Regions from separate parts of the Homo sapiens genome. Here all the other regions are linked to region 1. Evidence: promoter capture Hi-C in human tissues and cell types (Jung and others, 2019). All regions are on one chromosome and are shown on one strand. Each heading gives the region's core, a stretch centred on a gene start or on the middle of the fragment in contact. The rest is flanking DNA. Distances are from core to core; before and after follow the strand shown.

What was found. The method cuts DNA at HindIII sites, captures the fragments that hold promoters and counts their contacts. A contact is called where the count stands out against the background at its distance.
Region 2: a fragment that was not itself captured here is called in contact with the fragment with the promoter of CD164 in region 1 in 1 of the 25 tissues and cell types used here (aorta).
Region 3: a fragment that was not itself captured here is called in contact with the fragment with the promoter of CD164 in region 1 in 1 of the 25 tissues and cell types used here (hippocampus).

What each region holds. Positions count from the first base shown.
Region 1 is chr6:109,380,800-109,384,369 of GRCh38, reverse strand. It overlaps CD164 (CD164 molecule), which reads left to right and starts at 1,903. Exons shown (of 6, transcript NM_006016.6): 1 at 1,903-2,166. The coding sequence starts at 1,992. RefSeq lists enhancers at 1,286-1,515, 1,596-1,945, 1,501-2,010 and a silencer at 2,166-2,445. The HindIII fragment of the contact is 8,715 bases long and covers 1-3,570 here.
Region 2 is chr6:107,948,630-107,952,199 of GRCh38, reverse strand. The region is part of intron 1 of SEC63 (SEC63 protein translocation regulator); the gene reads left to right. Among named protein-coding and RNA genes, the nearest start is that of SEC63, 7.8 kb to the left of the region's middle. The HindIII fragment of the contact is 5,484 bases long and covers 1-3,570 here.
Region 3 is chr6:108,226,619-108,230,188 of GRCh38, reverse strand. All of the region lies in intron 1 of SNX3 (sorting nexin 3), which reads left to right. Among named protein-coding and RNA genes, the nearest start is that of SNX3, 33 kb to the left of the region's middle. RefSeq lists a silencer at 27-227. The HindIII fragment of the contact is 3,127 bases long and covers 362-3,488 here.

The sequences.
Region 1 (3,570 bases), core at 654-3,153:
TGTTAAACAATGGTCTGCACAGAGGAGTGTGTTTATCCTAGGGTGGAAAGAAGATAACACACCAAGCTCTGAGAACAGAGCTTCTATTTACATTTTTTTTTTTTTTTTTTTTTTTGAGACGAGTCTGGCTCTGTTCCCCAAGCTGGAGTGCAGTGGTGTGATCTCGGCTCACTGCAACCTCCGCCTCCCGGATACAAGCGATCCTCCTGCCTCAGCCCTGCTAGTAGCTGGGATTACAGGCACGTGCCACCATGCCCGGCTAATTTTTGTATTTTTAGGAGAGACGGGGTTTACACCATGTTGGCCAAGCTGGTCTCAAACTCCGGACCTCAGGTGATCCACCCGCCTTGGCCTCCCAAAGTGCTGGCATTACAGGCGTGAGCCACCGCGTCCGGCCCCTATTTACATTCTTAACCTTAAAAAAAAATTAAAGTTGCCTTGCGCTTTCATTTGGTCTGGGTGCCAGATAGTCAAGTGTTAAATATAGAGAGAGGCCTCCTGAGAGAAGAGCAGACACTTCTCTGAAGGGCTTATGGTGGGAGCTCACTTCCCTGACAGCATTCTCATGCTTCTGGGCTGGATCAGTCAAAACTATCAGCTTTTTGTTTACATCCAAGCAACACTACTCCAACTAGCGTAGTCATTGGAACAAATGTTCATAGTCCTGAGGGTACAGAAGGACGACACTGAAAAGATCCCAAGGGGAAATAAAATCTTTCTATTTGAGCAAAAAGGTAAAAGCACTATGTAGTCATCTTTTTTGGCACATCAAAAAAGTCATCGTGGCACATCAAGACAGACCTCACGAAAGCAATTAATATTCCTATATTATTAGGATAACTTTGCATAATTAAAATTACATAAGTGTACAACAGCTGAAAACACAGCATTAAATACAACTTTTAAAGTCTAATTTTTACCATGTGATAACCGTATCAAATTTTGCGAATATTTTGTGAGACTTGGCAGTAGATGGCGCTCACCTTTACTAAAAGTCTGAGCAGCGCCTTAACACTAACAGGAACTTAAGAATCCAGCTCTGATGTCAGGCAATCCCGTGTCCAGGTCAGGTCACTTTTTTAAGTCTCAGTTTCCTCACTGGTAATGTGGGGGTGGGGGCCTCCCCAATGACCTCGCAACTCAGACCGCTTTTGATTCTCTGACTACAGTGGTGGAGTTGAGACAGGTCGGCTGCTGCAACCGCCGTCTGAAATAGCAATCCGGAAAAGTCAGGTTGGGAAAGTGACAGAGTAGACGCCCTGCGGCTCTGATCCGGGCGGCGCCTCAGCTGCCCACACTATGTGGGCGGCAACGCACAAACTCCTTAACCACGTGGTGCCTCCATTCCCCTAGGGAGTCCCATCACAGGATAACTTCTAGCAAAATCAATCTTCAAGAAAAAAAGAAGGGGTCCTGCCGAAGATATAAGGAAGCTCCCTGGGGATCCCGCAGCACAGCACAAACTTAGTTCTTGAGAGCCGCACAAAACCAACTTCCGCCCCAGTGGAGTTGCGTCCGGAAGGCGCGGCCCCGGAGGTCACGTGGGCCCGCGGAATTACAGCCTGGCGGGGCGCTCAGGTGGAAGCAGTAGGCCACATTATGTCGACTGTTCCATGCAAGTCAGGGTGGGGGCCGTCCCTATCGCAGGCATGAGACAAGTCCAGCTGCGTCGTGTCTGGTAATCTGAGGGCAAGAAGAACGATTTGCAGAAGCTCCCAGTTTTCTTGGCTGTGGCACAGTCGCTTTGAGGGCCAGGTTCCTTCGGCTTCCTCCCGACTCCCCTGCTTCCCCCCGTAGGATTCCCGTTGGTATCGTCCGAGCCCCACCTCCCTCCTCTTCGCCCCCGCACGCCGAAAACAGGGGCCTCTCACGTGACCCCTGCGCGCTCCCGCGGGGGAGCGTAGTCTCGGAGGCGGCGCCGCAGGGGATTGAGGGGTTGACTGAGCGTTGCGAGCCTTAGCTTTCTCCCGAACGCCAGCGCTGAGGACACGATGTCGCGGCTCTCCCGCTCACTGCTTTGGGCCGCCACCTGCCTGGGCGTGCTCTGCGTGCTGTCCGCGGACAAGAACACGACCCAGCACCCGAACGTGACGACTTTAGCGCCCATCTCCAACGTAACCTCGGCGCCGGTGACGTCCCTCCCGCTGGTCACCACTCCGGCACCAGGTGGGCGCGGGCCCTGTGGGCTTCCCGCCCTCCCCTGCCCAGCCGAGCCGCACTGCCTCCTCGCCGTGCGGGCGGGGCCCGGGTTCGGGCCACGGTCGGGCGGGCGGGCCGCGCTCGGGGTGCGGCGGCGACTCCGGCAACATGGCGGCCAGCCTGGAGTCCACTCGTGGCCGGGCCGGGTGGGGAGCGCGCTGGGGGGAAGCGGACGCGCGGTTCCCAGTGGCTGCGGGGCTGGGGCCCCCCTCGAAGTGTTGCAAGTCGAGGTGCCTTTTAAAAGTGCATCGTAATTCCTAGCCTCACTTGGGGTCGGAAATGGGGACGTGGCTTCCTTCCGCGGGGGCAGCGGTGGGGTTGAGGATGGGGCCGGGCGTCGCGCCTCTGAGGTTGGCGGTGGGGCCGAGCTGCCTCTCCCTGCCACTGGTTGTTCACCCTCCCGGCGCCTCTCTCCGGAGGTAGCCTTCTCCGGAAGTCCGGGAAAGAGAAACTTAAAGACGGTAATGCTCGTTCGTGTCTCAGACTTGAGTCTGAGAAGGTCGCTTGAGATTTAATTACATTGGTTTTGCAGATAGGAATAGAATGTAGCTGACGTTTGAGCACGTAGTTAGTGAAAACTTCACACTTCAAAGTATGCGAAAAGGAAGAAAAGTACCCATGTATGTACCGGGTGTTTTGCGTACGTATCCTAAGGCTAAACTGGAAGGTAGGTAGTGAAACCTAGGAGGTAGATGCAGAGACGGAGATGAGTAAACTCTCCTGACATTGTATGTTTATTCTTTTTTCAATTGTTTTTAAAATTTTCTTAACTATGTCCTGTGCTCAGATAGCGTATGTTTAGTAGGTCGTGGAACGGGGGTTTGTGCCCAGGTCTGTGGGTTTTCTAAAACCCGATCAGGAGCGTGTCTTTTGTTATGTGCAGTCGCATAGGGCTGGTTAAGGCATACATACATTTTAAAGCAGAAATTGCCATATACCGTGACAACACAAAAGAGAGAAGGAAGATAAGTTTGAGGTAATAAGCGGGAGAAACACTAGAGGTTTAAAACCTGCAGTCTCGTATGATTGGTTATTCTAGTTAACATTAGTTAAGGAGTAATGTTTACGTAGTTAACATTGGCTTCTTGACCGAAGAATGCCGAAGTGTAATGATTTTTATCACGGCATTCATATTCTACAAATTCTCCTCTAGTTTTAGTATTTTATAAAAGTTTAATAAAGTATATAGTAAACTTAATGTTTTGTTTTTAGTTTAAGGAAGATGTAATGGTAACATTTCAAAACGAGGGAAGTAAATTGCAGTATAATACTGGGAATTCTAACCGCACTATTTTAAGATGATAGAGCAGAATATGTTTGTCTCAGTCTTAATTTGACAGTTTCCTTTCAGAATTGTAGTGTGTGTGTAAG
Region 2 (3,570 bases), core at 510-3,009, 1.4 Mb after region 1:
AACATGTTTAGCTAAGCGTACTTATAATTAATACCCCTTTTAGTAGTTATTTGTTTTACTCTCTTGGTTTGCAAATTGGCTGAATAAAATGAATATTTCTTCAGACAATTAAGGACAAAAGCTCTGTATGCAATGATAACACGGAGGGCTTAGATTTCCTTGGCATAGTGATTCTTAACCCTGGCTACACATTAGAATCACTTCGGGAACTTTTTTTTTTTTTTTTTGAGATGGAGTCTCGCTCTGTCACCCAAGCTGGAGTGGAGTGGCGCGGTCTCAGCTCACTGCAAGGTCTGCCTCCTGGGTTCACCCCATTCTCCTGCCTCAGCCTCCCGAGTATCTGGGACCACAGGCGCCCACCACCACGCCTGGCTAATTTTTTGTATTTTTAGTAGAGACGGGGTTAGCCAGGATGGTCTTGATCTCCTGACCTCATGATCCGCCTGCCTCAGCCTCCCAAAGTGCTGGGATTACAGGCTTGAGCCACCGCGCCCGGCCCACTTCGGGAACTTTTTAAAACACTTGTACCCATCCCCAGATACTCTGATTTATTTGGTCTGGAGTGGGTGTTATGTACTGGTATTTTTTAAATATCCCTATATGATTCTAAATTGTAGCTATGTTTGAGAAGTGCTGCTTGGAGGAGAGCTTCCTTAGTAATGGTCTTTTGCTGTAGTTGCCATTTTGGGAGGTAGTATATTTGTTTTGCTATGTGCTCTTTGCTAACAACAACAACAAAATCCAAAAAACTAATGTGTTAGCCTTTTTGTTTTACATAGCTAAGAAGCACTTACAGAACAGTAACGTAAAGTTCTGGGAGTTAAAAGCCAGATATTTTTGTCAAACAACTTTAATGATACAAGTTTACAATCAGTTTATCATAGTTGTCTATTAATGGCTTCCAGAGTATTTACCATTGTGCTATGATTGGAGCCTTATGTAATTTGGATATCCTTAACATTTTGAAATAATTGCACATAATTACCTTAACACTACCCATCTTTGGTATTGCCAACAATACTGTGCTGTGACCTTTTGTGTGTACTGCCCACTTTGTGCTTTCTTGTAATTGTTAATGTTTGTCTTTCCTAGTGCTTTTAAAATGAGAAGTGTTCTTAATGTTTATGTGGAATTTCAATCCAACCATTATTTGTAAGTGCATAATTTTGTTTACTGCTTTTTTGATTTACAATAGAAGAGTTATCACTTTAAACATTTTATATCATTAGGCTTTCATTGATATATTTGACAAGAGTATTATCTGACAAGAGAAAATAACTGATTGCTTGTAATTATTAGAATTTCGAATAATCAAAAGCATGCTTTTATTCTTTCCGTAGGTTATGGAAAGAATTCCTTTTGAATTGAGATAAAATGTATCATTTAAAAAAAGTTTTTGTTGACTCCTTGATCTTACTTTTGGGGCTTGATCTTCCCTTTTCAAAACTTACTTAACCTTACTTTTTCAAAATGCCTGGTTTTGAAATGTGGCTCTGCAGCCTACTGTAATTTTAGGCAAGTTATTTAACTTCCGTGTGTTTCAGTATACTCATCTGTATTGGTTACTGATTTAACTTCTGTGTATCTCAGTATACTCATCTTTATTGGTCATACTCATCTGTTACGGTCAGAGAAGATACTTTGTATGATATCTGTCTTTCAAAATAAAATATCTTGTGGCTTAACATATAGTCTATCCTGCAAAACGTCCCATGGCACTTCTGAACAATGTATGTGCTGCTGCTGTAGGGTAGTGAGCGTTGTATATGTCTGTTAGATCTAGTTGGTTTGTGTTAAGTCCTCTATTTCCTTATCTTCTTTTTGGTTGTTCTATCCATTTTTGGGGATGGAGGGTGTATTGAAGTCTGAAACTATTATTGTAGCACTGTCTGTTTCTCTCTTCAGTTCTGTTGGTTTTTGCATTGTACATTTTGATGATCATTAGATACGTAAATGTTTATAAATGTTATATCTTCTTGCTGTATTGAACCTCTTACTAATATGTAATGTCTTTTATCTCTTGTAATCTTTTTTGTTTTAAAGTCTATTTTGTCTTATAGTCACCACCCTGCTATCTTTTGGTTACTGTTTCCATGGAATATTTTTTCCATCCTTTCACCTTCAATCTGTTTGTGTCTTTGGATATAAAGTGAGTCTCTTGTAGATGGACGTAGTTGGATCAGGTGCTTTTAATCCATTCTGCCAGTCTTTTGATTGGAACATTTAACCATTTACATTTAAAGTAATTACTGTTAAGGAAGGAGGGCCAGGTGCAGTGTTTCATTCCTGTAATCCCAGCACTTTGGGAAGCTGAGGTGGGAGGAACACTTGAGTCCAGGAGTTTGAACCAGCCTGGGCAACATAATGAGACCGTGTTCCTACAAACAAACAAACAAAAAAATATTAGCCAGGCATGGTGGCACGCACCTTTAGTCCTAGCTACTCAGGAGGCTGAAGCAGGAGGATCACTTGAGCCCAGGAGATCGAGGCTGCAGTGAGCTATGATCATGTCACTGCACTCCAACCTGGATGACAGAAGGAGACCCTGTCACACACAAAAAGTAAAAAGAAGGACCTCTGTCATTTTGCTATTTGTTTTCTATAGGCATATATCCTTTTGTTCCTTATTTCCTGCATTACTATTTTTTTGTTTAGCTGATTTTTTTTGTAGTGAAATGTTTACATTTCTTTGCATTTTCTAATTTTTATTTTATTTTATTTTTAAATAGAGACTGGGTTTTGCCATGTTGCTCAAGCTTGTCTCAAACTCCTGGGCCCAAGTGATCTATGTCTCGGACTCTCAAAGTGCTGGGATTACATGTGTGAGCCACTGCTCACATCTCATTTTCTTTTGAGTATATTCTGTAGTTACTTTTTGTGTGGTTACCATGGGGATTACATTAAACATCCTAAATATTGTAATTTCAATTTATACCAGTTTAACTTTGACATATAAAAACTCTGCTCCTTTATAGCTCCTTTCCCACCTCTTTCAGTATTTGATTTCCCCTAATTACATCTTTATACATTGTGTGCCCCAAAGCATAAACTAATAATTCTTTTAAATGCATTAGTTTATTGTTTAGAAAACAAAGTGTGGATGTAGGGGCCAAGGGAAACTTCCCTTTTGCCCTCTGAAGATTGGCTGAAAAATCAACTCAGACAAGGTGGATTAATTGGAGGAAAGACATACACATGTATTTAATGTGAACATGGGGCGAACCACAGAGTGATTCCCCACATCCCAATGTAGTTCAGAAGCTTATATACCATCCTGGTGAAACAGGTTATGGGAAGGGGGAGAAGAGGAATTCTGTTGATAGGATTGCTAGGGACAATGGATCAGAGAACAGAGATTAACTTGTACATTATCTTGTGAAGGGTCTGTTTAGGTGTGGTTACCTTCTTGGTCCTACAGGAGGAGAAGAAAAGCAGTTGTTCGTTTTGGTGGGTCTGGATCTTAGGCAGATGAAGGCTTTGGGATATGGTGGGGGGCATCAGGAGGGCAGGGAGGAAAGTCAGAGAGACCTTGAGGCTTCTTCATTCAGCATGTCAAAATGCCATATTTTG
Region 3 (3,570 bases), core at 676-3,175, 1.2 Mb after region 1:
TATTTAAGCCTGATTTACATTTAATTTCAGAATTCAGCATTCTTTCTGGGTAAATCTAGAGCATTTAAAGTGGCATCCAAGATAAAACCTTTAAGGGATTTTTGCTGTAATTTGCCTCAGTAGTCTGACTCTTGTCCATACATTTCAAAGCAGATAAACCTAGGAATCAACTAGAGCCATCTGTTCTTAATTCTACACCTTAATGCTACATGCAGCTCATCTGTGGCTTCTACTTCTGTAGTAACTTCTCTGTTCTATTTTTTCTGTTCATAGCTATCATTTTTCTATTCAAACATATTTATTAACTCCTGATGCTCACAGGTAGTCACCTTAGCCCCATATTTAGAGTGCAATTTAAACTTTTCAGTTTTATTTCCCATCATTCCCTATGCTTTAGAATATTCAAGAATTATATACTAAATATACACTGTACTTGTTTCTTCTCTGCATTTAGCTCACACTATTTTCACCATTTTCAGCTGTCTTATAGTATGGCTAGCTCTGTGTTAAAAGAGTCCTGGCTGAGGCCATTGCACTCGCGCCATTTTACCCTAGCATGGGCGACAAGAGCGAAACTCTGTCTCAAAAACAAACAAAACGAAAAAGAGTCCTGACTGGCCGTACGCAGTGGCTCACACCTCATATTCCAGCACTTTGGGAGGCTGAGGTGGAAGGATCCCTTGAGCCCAGGAGTTCAAGACCAGCCTGAGCAACTTAGGGAGACCCTGTCTCTAAAGGAAGGAAGGGGAGGGAGGGAGGGGGAGAGGGAGGGGAAGCAGAGAGACTGAGGAAAGGAAAGAAAAGGAGGGGAAAGAATGAATGAATCCGGGCCAAATCAATTGTCAATTCTTCCGTGCTTTTCATATTATACAAATGGTATTATGCTATATAATATACTGTTCTGAAACTTTTTTTTTTTTTTTTTTTTTGAGGTGGAGTCTCGCTCTGTCGCCCAGGCTGGAGTGCAGTGGCATGATCTCACCTCACTGCAACCTCCGCCTCCCGGGTTCAAGCGATTATCCTGCCATAGCCTCCGGAGTAGCAGGAATTACAGGCTCGTGCCACCTCACCCGGCTAATGTTTGTATTTTTAGTAGAGATGGGGTTTCACTGTATTGGCCAGGCTGGTCTTGAACTCCTGACCTCAAGTGATCCACCCGCCTCAGCCTCCCAAAGTGCTGGGATTATAGGCATAAGCCACCGCACCCAGCCTGAAACTTTTTACATGTCATACATTCTAGACAGCTTTTCTGATTAACCTATGGCTGAGTTATATTTTGTAAAAAGCTGTGTAATATAAGCTTGTAATGTAAGATTTATTGTTTCTGGTCTTTTTTGGGGTTTTTTTTTGTGTCTATTACAATGCTAAAATATTTTTGTATGTGTGGAAATATTTGTAGGATTAATTCCCATTGAAATTGTTCATTCAAAAGTTATGTGTATTTAATAGAGTAATGGATAATGTATTCACCAAAATGCCCCCCTTTTTTTTGAGACCGTCTCCCTCTGTCACCCAGGCTGAAATACAGTGAGTGATGTGATCACAGCTCATGCAGCCTCAGCCTCGAAGGCTGAAGCCATCCTGACACCTTATCTTCCCACTACAGGCATGTGCCACCATACCCAGCTAATTTTTTTTTTTTTAAACAGAGTTTCGCTCTTGTTGCCCAGGCTGGAGTGCAGTGGCGCAATCTTGGTTCACTGCAGTCTCCGCTTCCCGGGTTCAAGCAGTTCTGCCTCAGCATCCCGAGTAGCTGGGATTACAGGTACCCGCCACCATGCCTGGCTAATTTTTGTGTTTTTAGTAGAGACAGGGTTTCACCATGTTGTCCAGGCTGGTCGCGAACTCCTGACCTCAGATGATCCACCCGCCTTGGCCTCCCAAAGTGCTGGGATTACAGGCATGAGCCACCACGCCCAGCCTGCCCAGCTAATTTTTTATTTTTTGTAGAGATGGGGGTCTCACCATGTTGCCCAGCCTGGTCTCAAACTCCTGTGATCCTCCCACCTCAGCCTTCCAAAGTACAGGGATTACAGGCTTGAGCCATCATGCCCAGCCAGTTTGTAGTATTTTTAACCATGGAAATTCAACTTTTTATATGCTTATTTTCTAACCTTGATTGGTGTATGTTTCATAAGGGCCAGGTCTGCATCTTATTCATCATTATAAATAATGATTCTCCCTTATCTAGCATGGTGCCCTTTTATAGATGATCAGTAAATAATAGTTTAGTCCTCCTGAAGCTGTAGGTAAAAAACCTCTCCGCCCTTCAATCATTTTATGAAAGTTAAATAAATTGAAAGTGACCAATCACAGGAGTTTCAGCAGTGATAGTTCAGTACCTTAAACAACAACAACAACAAAAAAAAAAAACCCACATTTTGCACTTAGTTATTTTAATCAGTTACATTGAATTACAAATCCTTGTAATGATGAGGAAGACGTTTAACAGGCTAAGTTAACCACTGCATATGTAATGGGCAAGTGATGTTTGAATTTCTTGATGTGACTTTAAACTCTAAAGCAGTCCTCATGCAAAAAGAGAAATCATAACCAGTTAAGAAAACTAAAGGAACTTTCTTAAGCTAATCATGGTCCTCTAAATTTAAGTATATAAACTATCAAACTATTAGCTAATCATAGAAGGGAAAGTACTTTTCCCCCTCACCCCTCCCCTTTCTGTTAGAGTGAATCAGATATAATCATGATTGTGTCAAAAGTTCAAAAGGGAAAATGGAAGGTAAAATGAGCTGAATTGGCACTCTTCTCTCAACATTGTACCTGTAAGCTTGATATGTTGTTTCAGAGATTAACTTTATAGACTTCCGTACCCAGAAGTATGAAAATTCTTAGGGGACTCTTTTCGCAAGCTTGATCTTAACGTATTTGAATAAAGAGAGCAGTTAATCCCCTTTGTAAAGTAATTTGAGAGGAGGGAATTCAGAATGTAAAATCTCACCTGCAGAAAACACTCAACTCTGTAAAGGCCTTTTTATCTTTAAGGCATTTACAAAGACTTAATATTTTAATGCGGAAGGGTGAACTTGGTTAAAAAGCCAATAGGTGAAATTAGAGAGAAATAATCCAGTGCTTTCTTTCTGGGAATTATTCTACTCTCCAGGGGACCTAATTTTATTCCCTGTGGGGAATGAGAATACCCTCTGTACAACAAGCCAGCATCTTTAAATATAAGCTTGACTTTTAGTATAATAAGAGTCTTGTTAGGTGCAATTTTTTCCTTAGTCATTTATACAATGAACAAATGTTGTGGTTACCTGGGAAAGAAAATTCAAGTGCTTTTAAATCTCTTGTGAGATTTGGTTTCATGCTTGAAACCTATACACTGTTATGCCCAATAGCATCTGTTGAAAATTCTGAGCTGTAAGGTATACAACATAGAGAAGTTAATACACTTAGGAAAAAATTGAGACCACTACAAAATGGATTTAAGGGCCTGAATTAAAAGCTTTTCTTGTGCTGAGTGACAGCTACTTACCAGTAGCATTAAGCTTAACAAATAAGTAGAACTTTCTTAGGAGTGAATATTACAAGATGATGTCCCTGTATACA